Linked DNA regions of Homo sapiens: region 1 is linked to region 2. Evidence: promoter capture Hi-C in 16 types of primary human blood cells and fetal thymus (Javierre and others, 2016). All regions are on one chromosome and are shown on one strand. Each heading gives the region's core, a stretch centred on a gene start or on the middle of the fragment in contact. The rest is flanking DNA. Distances are from core to core; before and after follow the strand shown. Region 1 holds the start of NRAS (NRAS proto-oncogene, GTPase). Region 2 holds the start of ST7L (suppression of tumorigenicity 7 like).

Region 1 (4,266 bases), core at 1,647-4,146, 2.1 Mb before region 2:
TTTCTTAAAGTTGATGGCCAAATTTTAAAATGTTATTTTTCATATCATTTATAATCTTGTCACAATCCACTTAAAGAAGTTTGGTTATATTTCAGTGAAAATTTTCTTCCAGAGTAGGTTTTTTTTCGTGGGTTGGGGGGTAACTTTACTACAATTAGTAAGTATGGTGCAGAATTTCATGCAAATGAGGAGTGCCAGCAGTGTGATAATTTAAACATATTTAAACAAAAACAAAAAAAATGAATGCACAAACTTGCTGCTGCTTAGATCACTGCAGCTTCTAGGACCCGGTTTCTTTTACTGATTTAAAAACAAAACAAAAAAAAATAAAAAAGTTGTGCCTGAAATGAATCTTGTTTTTTTTTATAAGTAGCCGCCTGGTTACTGTGTCCTGTAAAATACAGACACTTGACCCTTGGTGTAGCTTCTGTTCAACTTTATATCACGGGAATGGATGGGTCTGATTTCTTGGCCCTCTTCTTGAATTGGCCATATACAGGGTCCCTGGCCAGTGGACTGAAGGCTTTGTCTAAGATGACAAGGGTCAGCTCAGGGGATGTGGGGGAGGGCGGTTTTATCTTCCCCCTTGTCGTTTGAGGTTTTGATCTCTGGGTAAAGAGGCCGTTTATCTTTGTAAACACGAAACATTTTTGCTTTCTCCAGTTTTCTGTTAATGGCGAAAGAATGGAAGCGAATAAAGTTTTACTGATTTTTGAGACACTAGCACCTAGCGCTTTCATTATTGAAACGTCCCGTGTGGGAGGGGCGGGTCTGGGTGCGGCCTGCCGCATGACTCGTGGTTCGGAGGCCCACGTGGCCGGGGCGGGGACTCAGGCGCCTGGGGCGCCGACTGATTACGTAGCGGGCGGGGCCGGAAGTGCCGCTCCTTGGTGGGGGCTGTTCATGGCGGTTCCGGGGTCTCCAACATTTTTCCCGGCTGTGGTCCTAAATCTGTCCAAAGCAGAGGCAGTGGAGCTTGAGGTAAGTTTATCTCATGCATAGTGTTCGGCTTTGGGCTGTGGAATGTTCAGGCGTTTCACTGATGCCAGAAATGGAGCAGAATCTATCAGCTGGAGACAAAGGCCTTGGGCGGGGGTCCTTCCATTTGGTGCCTACGTGGGGAGATCTTTGGAGACAGAAGGGAGAATGGGAAGGAGTTGCGGCCTGGAGGCTTCCTGCTAGAGCTGAGAAGCCTTCGGGGAGTAATAGGAAGGGGGATTTCCATTGCTTAGGCTGAGGGCGGGGCCCAAGGACTGTTGAAAAATAGCTAAGGATGGGGGTTGCTAGAAAACTACTCCAGAAGTGTGAGGCCGATATTAATCCGGTGTTTTTGCGTTCTCTAGTCACTTTAAGAACCAAATGGAAGGTCACACTAGGGTTTTCATTTCCATTGATTATAGAAAGCTTTAAAGTACTGTAGATGTGGCTCGCCAATTAACCCTGATTACTGGTTTCCAACAGGTTCTTGCTGGTGTGAAATGACTGAGTACAAACTGGTGGTGGTTGGAGCAGGTGGTGTTGGGAAAAGCGCACTGACAATCCAGCTAATCCAGAACCACTTTGTAGATGAATATGATCCCACCATAGAGGTGAGGCCCAGTGGTAGCCCGCTGACCTGATCCTGTCTCTCACTTGTCGGATCATCTTTACCCATATTCTGTATTAAAGGAATAAGAGGAGAGAAAGTAAAAAGTTATTTTGGGTATACATTCAGTTATGCAATAAGCTTAACGTGTTTATAGAGAACAGTTCATTTTTATTAGCTGCTGAAGTTTCTAAAACCTGTCCAGTTTTTAACAGTTCTGTAAACTATTGCAAACTCAGTGTTGAGTTCATTCATGAGTTTCTTCATATATAACAGCTCTATTACATGAGAAACACAGGCCATAGTAGCGAGACTGTCTGATTGTATGGGAGATAATAGGATGGAGATAAAGGATTCAGAGATGAGTGTTCTTCAATATTTATTTATTAGCTAGTTGAAGCAGCTGAGACCAGATGATTGGAGTAGCAAGAACTTGAGATTTTTAGTCTTTATGCCTAGGATTTTGGTCCCTGTTTGCAGTTTATTTAGTTGTGTGATATTGAGCAACTGAATCTCTCCCAACCTCATTTTCCTCATGTTTTAAATTACCATAAACTTGTCCTGCCTACCACACAGGGATGTTATGGAAAGTTAAATAATATATTTAAGTTATTTATGAATGGTAAAGCACTATGTAATAGTACTTAGGGATTCTATTGTTATTATGAGAGTTCATGGTACAGATTGTCTTCAGTAAGTGGCACCTAAGGCTCTTTAAATAAAGGGTTTTGCCGGACACGGTGGCTCACGCCTGTAATCCCAGCACTTTGGGAGGCTGAGGCAGGCGGATCACAAGGTCAGGAGTTCAAGACCAGCCTGATCAACATGGTGAAACCCCGTCTCTACTAAAAATACAAAAATTAGCTGGGTGTGGTGGCAGGCACCTGTAATCCCAGCTACTCAGGAGGCTGAGGCAGGAGAATCGCTTGAACCAGAGGCAGAGGGTGCAGTGAGCCGAGATCACACCACAGACCTCCAGCCTGGGCAACAGAGCGAGACTTCGTCTCAAAAAATAAATAAATAGATAAATAAATAAAGGGTTTTGTAATTTTGTTCAGTTTAGAAATGCCTAACTTTAGAGATTATTTTAATCAACACCTGGCCTCCCTACCATCTGGCTACTCGTGTTTAATTGATGAAAACTAACTCTAATGTAGCCACTATAAAAAATTGGTTGCTAACCCTTGGCAAAATCTTTATTTTGAGCTTAACAGCTTTAATATTTTACATGAAATGTTTAATATTTTAATTAAATATTTTTAAATGTTTGATTTATTGAGCAATTTACATAAGTAAAATACATAAATTTTATGTCTACAGCCCAGTGCTTTTTGCGTTTCTATATAGTCATGTAGCTACCACCCAGATAACAGTATAGAGCACTTCCAGTACTCCAGAGAGTTCTCCAAGTGTGATGACATTAAAATACAAGTAAAAGTCCTGTTGCCATAAAACCAAAATGAAAGTATTTTTTATATGATCTATGCATGTTTGTCTTCCTGAGAAATTAAACATAACTATACCTTGTTTGGAACCTTTAAGAATTTGATTCAGGAATATTTCCCAAAGGTACATCTGTCATGATAAAAAAAAAACCTTCTCTGAAACAAAGGTATTTGTATATTTAGTCATAAACACAAATGATGTATATAGGGCCAGGTTATAATTGGTGGAGGTATGTTTAGATTTCTTTAAGTAAAATAAACAGCACAAATAAAACAGTCCAGTTCATAGCTTAGTGAAATACACTGGGTACTTAATCTGTAGCCTCCTGGCTGCAGTAGAGTTGTCATTTGAGTTACTGTGTTTTCTTAATCTTTTCCAGGAACACAGTGACCATATTTCTTTTCTGCAGGCATATAGAATTTGGTGGGTTTTCTTTTATGTAGGGTGATATTGGATACTTTTTGTTTGTGATTATATATTAGCAATTTGAGGGACAAACCAGATAGGCAGAAATGGGCTTGAATAGTTAGATGCTTATTTAACCTTGGCAATAGCATTGCATTCCCTGTGGTTTTTAATAAAAATTGAACTTCCCTCCCTCCCTGCCCCCTTACCCTCCACACCCCCAGGATTCTTACAGAAAACAAGTGGTTATAGATGGTGAAACCTGTTTGTTGGACATACTGGATACAGCTGGACAAGAAGAGTACAGTGCCATGAGAGACCAATACATGAGGACAGGCGAAGGCTTCCTCTGTGTATTTGCCATCAATAATAGCAAGTCATTTGCGGATATTAACCTCTACAGGTACTAGGAGCATTATTTTCTCTGAAAGGATGATCTTTGTGTTCTGAATCTTTATGGGGAAATGAGGTTACCACACTAGGGAAGATAGAGCTTTTTAATTATGGGAAGAGTTGGTTTTAGGTTGTTTGACATTGAGAATCTAGGGTAATTACTGAAAGTTAATACTGGAATTTATTTTACATAATATACTGTTACTATAAAGTTTGATAATACATAAGTGAAGCTTGCTACTGGGAATGACTTGGAACCAGAGTTGTTGTAATTAGAGATCACGAAGGAATTTCAGAGAGGAAAACATCTCCAAGAAACATCTTTCAGTATGTAATGGAAAAGATAGGCCAGGCACAGTGGCTCACACCTGGAATGTCAGTGCTTTGGGAGGCCAAGGCGGGAGGATCACTTTCAGCCCAGGAGTTGGAGACCAGCC
Region 2 (3,977 bases), core at 652-3,151:
GACTTATGGATCATAACAGTCCCCTTCCCATCCCAACTTCTTATTGAAAAAAACACCCAGGTAGATTTACAGAGCACTCAAGGGGACACATTTTCTAATAGCCACAGTGGGAGACAAATGTCATAATTCTTGTCCAATAAGTTGCCTTGTGAGGTCATTCTAAGTTCTACGTGCCCTAAAACCATGTACTTACTGAAAAGCCTGACAAACTGTTATGAAACTGTGCAACTGTCAGAAGAAAAGTTATTCCACCTTAGAATGTGCTCTTGTATTTAAGACCCTTTTCAAGAAATGAGCATACAAAATGCACACTGACAAATTCAACTGATCAAAGACTCCACAGTGGAGCATCAAAGAAGGCAGGATGCTTTGTTCAGTCTTGAACGTGTTAACATAAGGTTTATTATGTGTTACAGAAAACCTTTCTGGAGGTTAAGAAAATCCATCAGCTATTCTAGATTTGTTAACAAGAAACAAAATTTTCAAAAATTATCGTTAAAAGGGATGTGTCTATAGGGAAAGACTGGTGTTCAAATTCTGAAGCAAATGCCCTGAGGCTCACAGATTTATTATAGCGAATCAGACAGGCGACAGTACAGGAGAAAAGTAGTGCATGTGTAGGGAGATGGACAACATTTGGGACCTCTCCTTGTCGAAGAGTCGTGACAGCAAAATCACTTCCTGAGGAAGGAGGAGCAAAAGGGAAGTTAAGAGGCCATCCTGACCAGGAAGTGACTCGCCCTAAACTAACCCCAATTATATCTACAAATGGGGGGATGGGGTGAGCCCCAACTGCTAAAGGCGGTAAAATAACTGCTTTTTGATATGTCGCAACATAACCACCACCCTCTCGCAAAATTACAGAAAAAAGTCCACAGTCACGATCCAATAAAGGAAACGTCTGTTCCCTTGCAGGGAGGCCCCTGGGCTGTGCCTCAGGCCTGAGAGAAAAGGAGAGTCGAGGAACGAGGAACTGGGGCCACCGTGAGGCAGAGGAAAGCCCCCTAAGAGGGAAGCGTCCCGACTGCGGAGAGCGTATGTCAGCATGGACCAAGAAGCTTCTTTTTCCTGGGGACACTGCTAGGCTCCCAACGCAGCCGGGCCGGGCCCCAGTTCCCTGTCGGGGGAGGAGGTAAGAGAGAGAGGCGGACCCCTTACCTTCTCCTCATCCGACACACGATCATCGAAGTCGGCCATCTTGGGCTGTTCTGGCCCAGCCCGGCTACGGGCGCGAGGCAGGCCGGGAAGAAAGCCGAGTGATGGAATCACCGCGGCGGCCGTCGGAAGGACCCGCCCGGAAACGCCGACCAAGAGGGCCCCATGTCAGTTATGCGCGGGAGTGACGTCTCCTAACGCCAGCGCCCGCGCCCGCGCCCCAGGAAGTAGGGTTTGCCTTAGGTGATTTGAAGTCTAATATCTTTCCCAATGAGTTACACTCATTTCCCATCCATCTAATGGGCGCTGGCAGCGTGTTTCGATTATTCTTGGCTTCTGGCCTCCATCCGACCAAATAGCTGTTGCTACTCCTACAAGTTTTTCTGGTGCCCGTTATCTCCACGACAGCCGAATCCAAAGCTTTAAGAGCTGCTCGGCAGCTGGAACGATCGGTGGCTTTTCCAACCCCGGGGGGGGGGCGGTGTGAAAGGTGACCCTCATTTCGTTTGGAAGCGGTAACACTTCGGGGTCACATCTCAGTCCAGTTCCTCCAGAATAGGCGCTGCTGTCCGCCCCTTCCCTGCCCCACGAAAGAACAGGTAGCCCCAATCTTGAGACACGCTCCTCCACCTTCGAAATCTTCTCGGTCCCGGTTCCCCAGGACTCAGCCTTCACAGAGGCCAACTTCAGGTCCGCCACTATCCCAGGATTCCCGACTCCCGGTTTCCTGTCCTTCTCCCCTCCCAGCTCCTGGCGCCTGCGATAGCGGCAAGATGGCGGACCGTGGCGGCGTGGGTGAAGCCGCAGCTGTTGGAGCGTCTCCTGCATCTGTCCCTGGCCTAAACCCGACGCTAGGCTGGAGGGAGCGACTGCGGGCCGGGCTGGCGGGGACTGGGGCCTCGTTGTGGTTCGTGGCGGGGCTGGGGCTGCTTTACGCCCTGAGGATCCCTTTGAGGCTGTGTGAGAATTTGGCAGCGGGTGAGAGGACCAGACCTCCTGGGGCAGGGCGGGGGGCCAGGAGAGATGTCGGGGGCAAGAGCCAAAGGGCAAGAGATTCTCGGTAGTCCTAGAGGGCCTCTGAGGAGTCGATGATGAGCGATCAAGTGAGTTCTTTTTCTTTTGGGCTGCAACCTTGCAGTTGATTGACAAGCCTGCTGCCGTTACCGGCTCCTCCGTAGAACTCTTAAGGTCCGCCCTCTCTCTTATGTCCTCGTTTTTCCATGGAAAAGCCACCTGACAAGCTATAAGCTTCAGGTATTAGGACAGAAGAGTGTCTCAGATTAGGATACGTAATTTATATTGGCTCCCCCACCTCTGGTAGGATCCCTTAAAAGTCACTACTTTGAGTCTCCCGCTGCCCAGCTGAAAGAACTCATATCCAGGCAACAAAGATGAGCACATCTGTAATTTAAAGATTTCAGAGAAAGAAAATGGCATGATTTTAATTGAGGATTCTCTTGTTTTAAAATAGTTCTGTTAAGAAATCGTTTTCGTGATAGTTTTGTCTGTTCTTTTAGGCTTATCTTGAGTAATAAAATAGTACAGGAAGTGAGAGCGCCACAAACAACAGTGGGTTTGCTAGTTCTTTCGACGTCTGTAGAACACTTGCTACGTATTCTGTGCTGACAATACGAACACATGTAAGAAGTGATGATCCTGATGGATTCTCATATACTGTACTATTCTTTAGCTGTAGACAGGATGAAGTGTTTAGGGCCCAGGTCCCCTTACCATGTGATTATATTTCACTCAAGATCTGAGCAGCAACCTCAGAACAAGATATAAGTATTTCCATTACATGATTCAGTATGGTGGTTGATTTTTCTGAAGCAAAAGGCAGCAAATGTCCCCTTTCCTGTTCAGAGATGACATGAAAGACTGTGAGTTAATGTTCGGAAATATTTTGGTTTTTTTGGAGGATAGGTATCAAGTTCAAATATAACTAGCACTCTAAAATAAGCTAAACTGAAGAGCTAATTTGGCATCTCTGTAACAGGTGAATGAAGTGCTTAACGGTGGTTTCTATGCACAGTGTTACTGATTGACTTGTCATTTATTTTTCTACGTTAACCATATGCAACATTTAGATGAGAATAGTTGATTACTATAGATTTTTCTTTTTTACGTTTCGTGTGTGTGTGTGTGTGTGTGTGTGTGTGTGTGTGTGTGAGAGAGAGAAAGACAGACAGAGTCTCCCTTTGTCACCCAGGCTGAAGTGTAGTGGCAAGATCACTGCAGCCTTGAACTCTTCTGCTTAAGCGATCCTCTGGCCTCAGCCTCCCAAGTAGCTGGGACTGCAGGCGTGCACCACCACGACTGGCTGAGTTTTAAATTTTGCGTAGAGACTGGGTCTATTTTATTTGCCCAGGCTGGTCTTGAACTTCTGGCTACCAGTGATCCTCCTGCCTTGGCCTCCCAAAACTCTGAGATTATGGGAGTGAGCCATCCTACCTGGCCAGATTTTTATTTTCTTTCTAAAACCCACAGTACTTATGAGATAATTATTTGAAGTGAAAAATCTGCTCCAGGATTTCAGTAACTCAGGGAGATTTCTGTTTGTTGCTTTTCTCTTTGAGCCATTTTGCCTCTCTAGCTGATATACCAAATACATATGCTGTTTCCTTCCCTCTAATTTGAGACAGTGGTTTTGTATCCTACCAAAATAAATATGGAGTAGTTTTGAACCTCCTTTGTAAAAGCATATTTATCTTTTTATTCTTACAGACTTGCAAAAGTTCTATCTAAATTATGACTTATAAGTGCTTTAGTTTTATTCTCCAAAGCAAGCTGAATTACCTCATTTTGATTTGTTGCAAATAGTG

What was found. Contacts are between HindIII fragments. The CHiCAGO score rates a contact against its expected background, and 5 or more counts as called.
Region 1: a contact is called between a fragment that was not itself captured here and the fragment with the promoter of ST7L in region 2, in 1 of 17 cell types (fetal thymus). The highest score is 5.2, in fetal thymus.

The regions. Positions count from the first base shown.
Region 1 is chr1:114,713,373-114,717,638 of GRCh38, reverse strand. NRAS (NRAS proto-oncogene, GTPase) reads left to right here and starts at 868. Exons shown (of 7, transcript NM_002524.5): 1 at 868-981; 2 at 1,462-1,589; 3 at 3,661-3,839. The coding sequence starts at 1,479. CSDE1 (cold shock domain containing E1) reads left to right here. Exons shown (of 20, transcript NM_001007553.3): 20 at 1-723. RefSeq lists enhancers at 863-1,062, 1,073-1,172. The HindIII fragment of the contact is 2,336 bases long and covers 1,729-4,064 here.
Region 2 is chr1:112,617,065-112,621,041 of GRCh38, reverse strand. It overlaps ST7L (suppression of tumorigenicity 7 like), which reads left to right and starts at 1,901. Exons shown (of 15, transcript NM_017744.5): 1 at 1,901-2,133. The coding sequence starts at 1,929. CAPZA1 (capping actin protein of muscle Z-line subunit alpha 1) reads right to left here and starts at 1,210. Exons shown (of 10, transcript NM_006135.3): 1 at 1,159-1,210. The coding sequence starts at 1,197. RefSeq lists enhancers at 928-1,377, 530-1,729, 1,838-1,937. The HindIII fragment of the contact is 828 bases long and covers 1,578-2,405 here.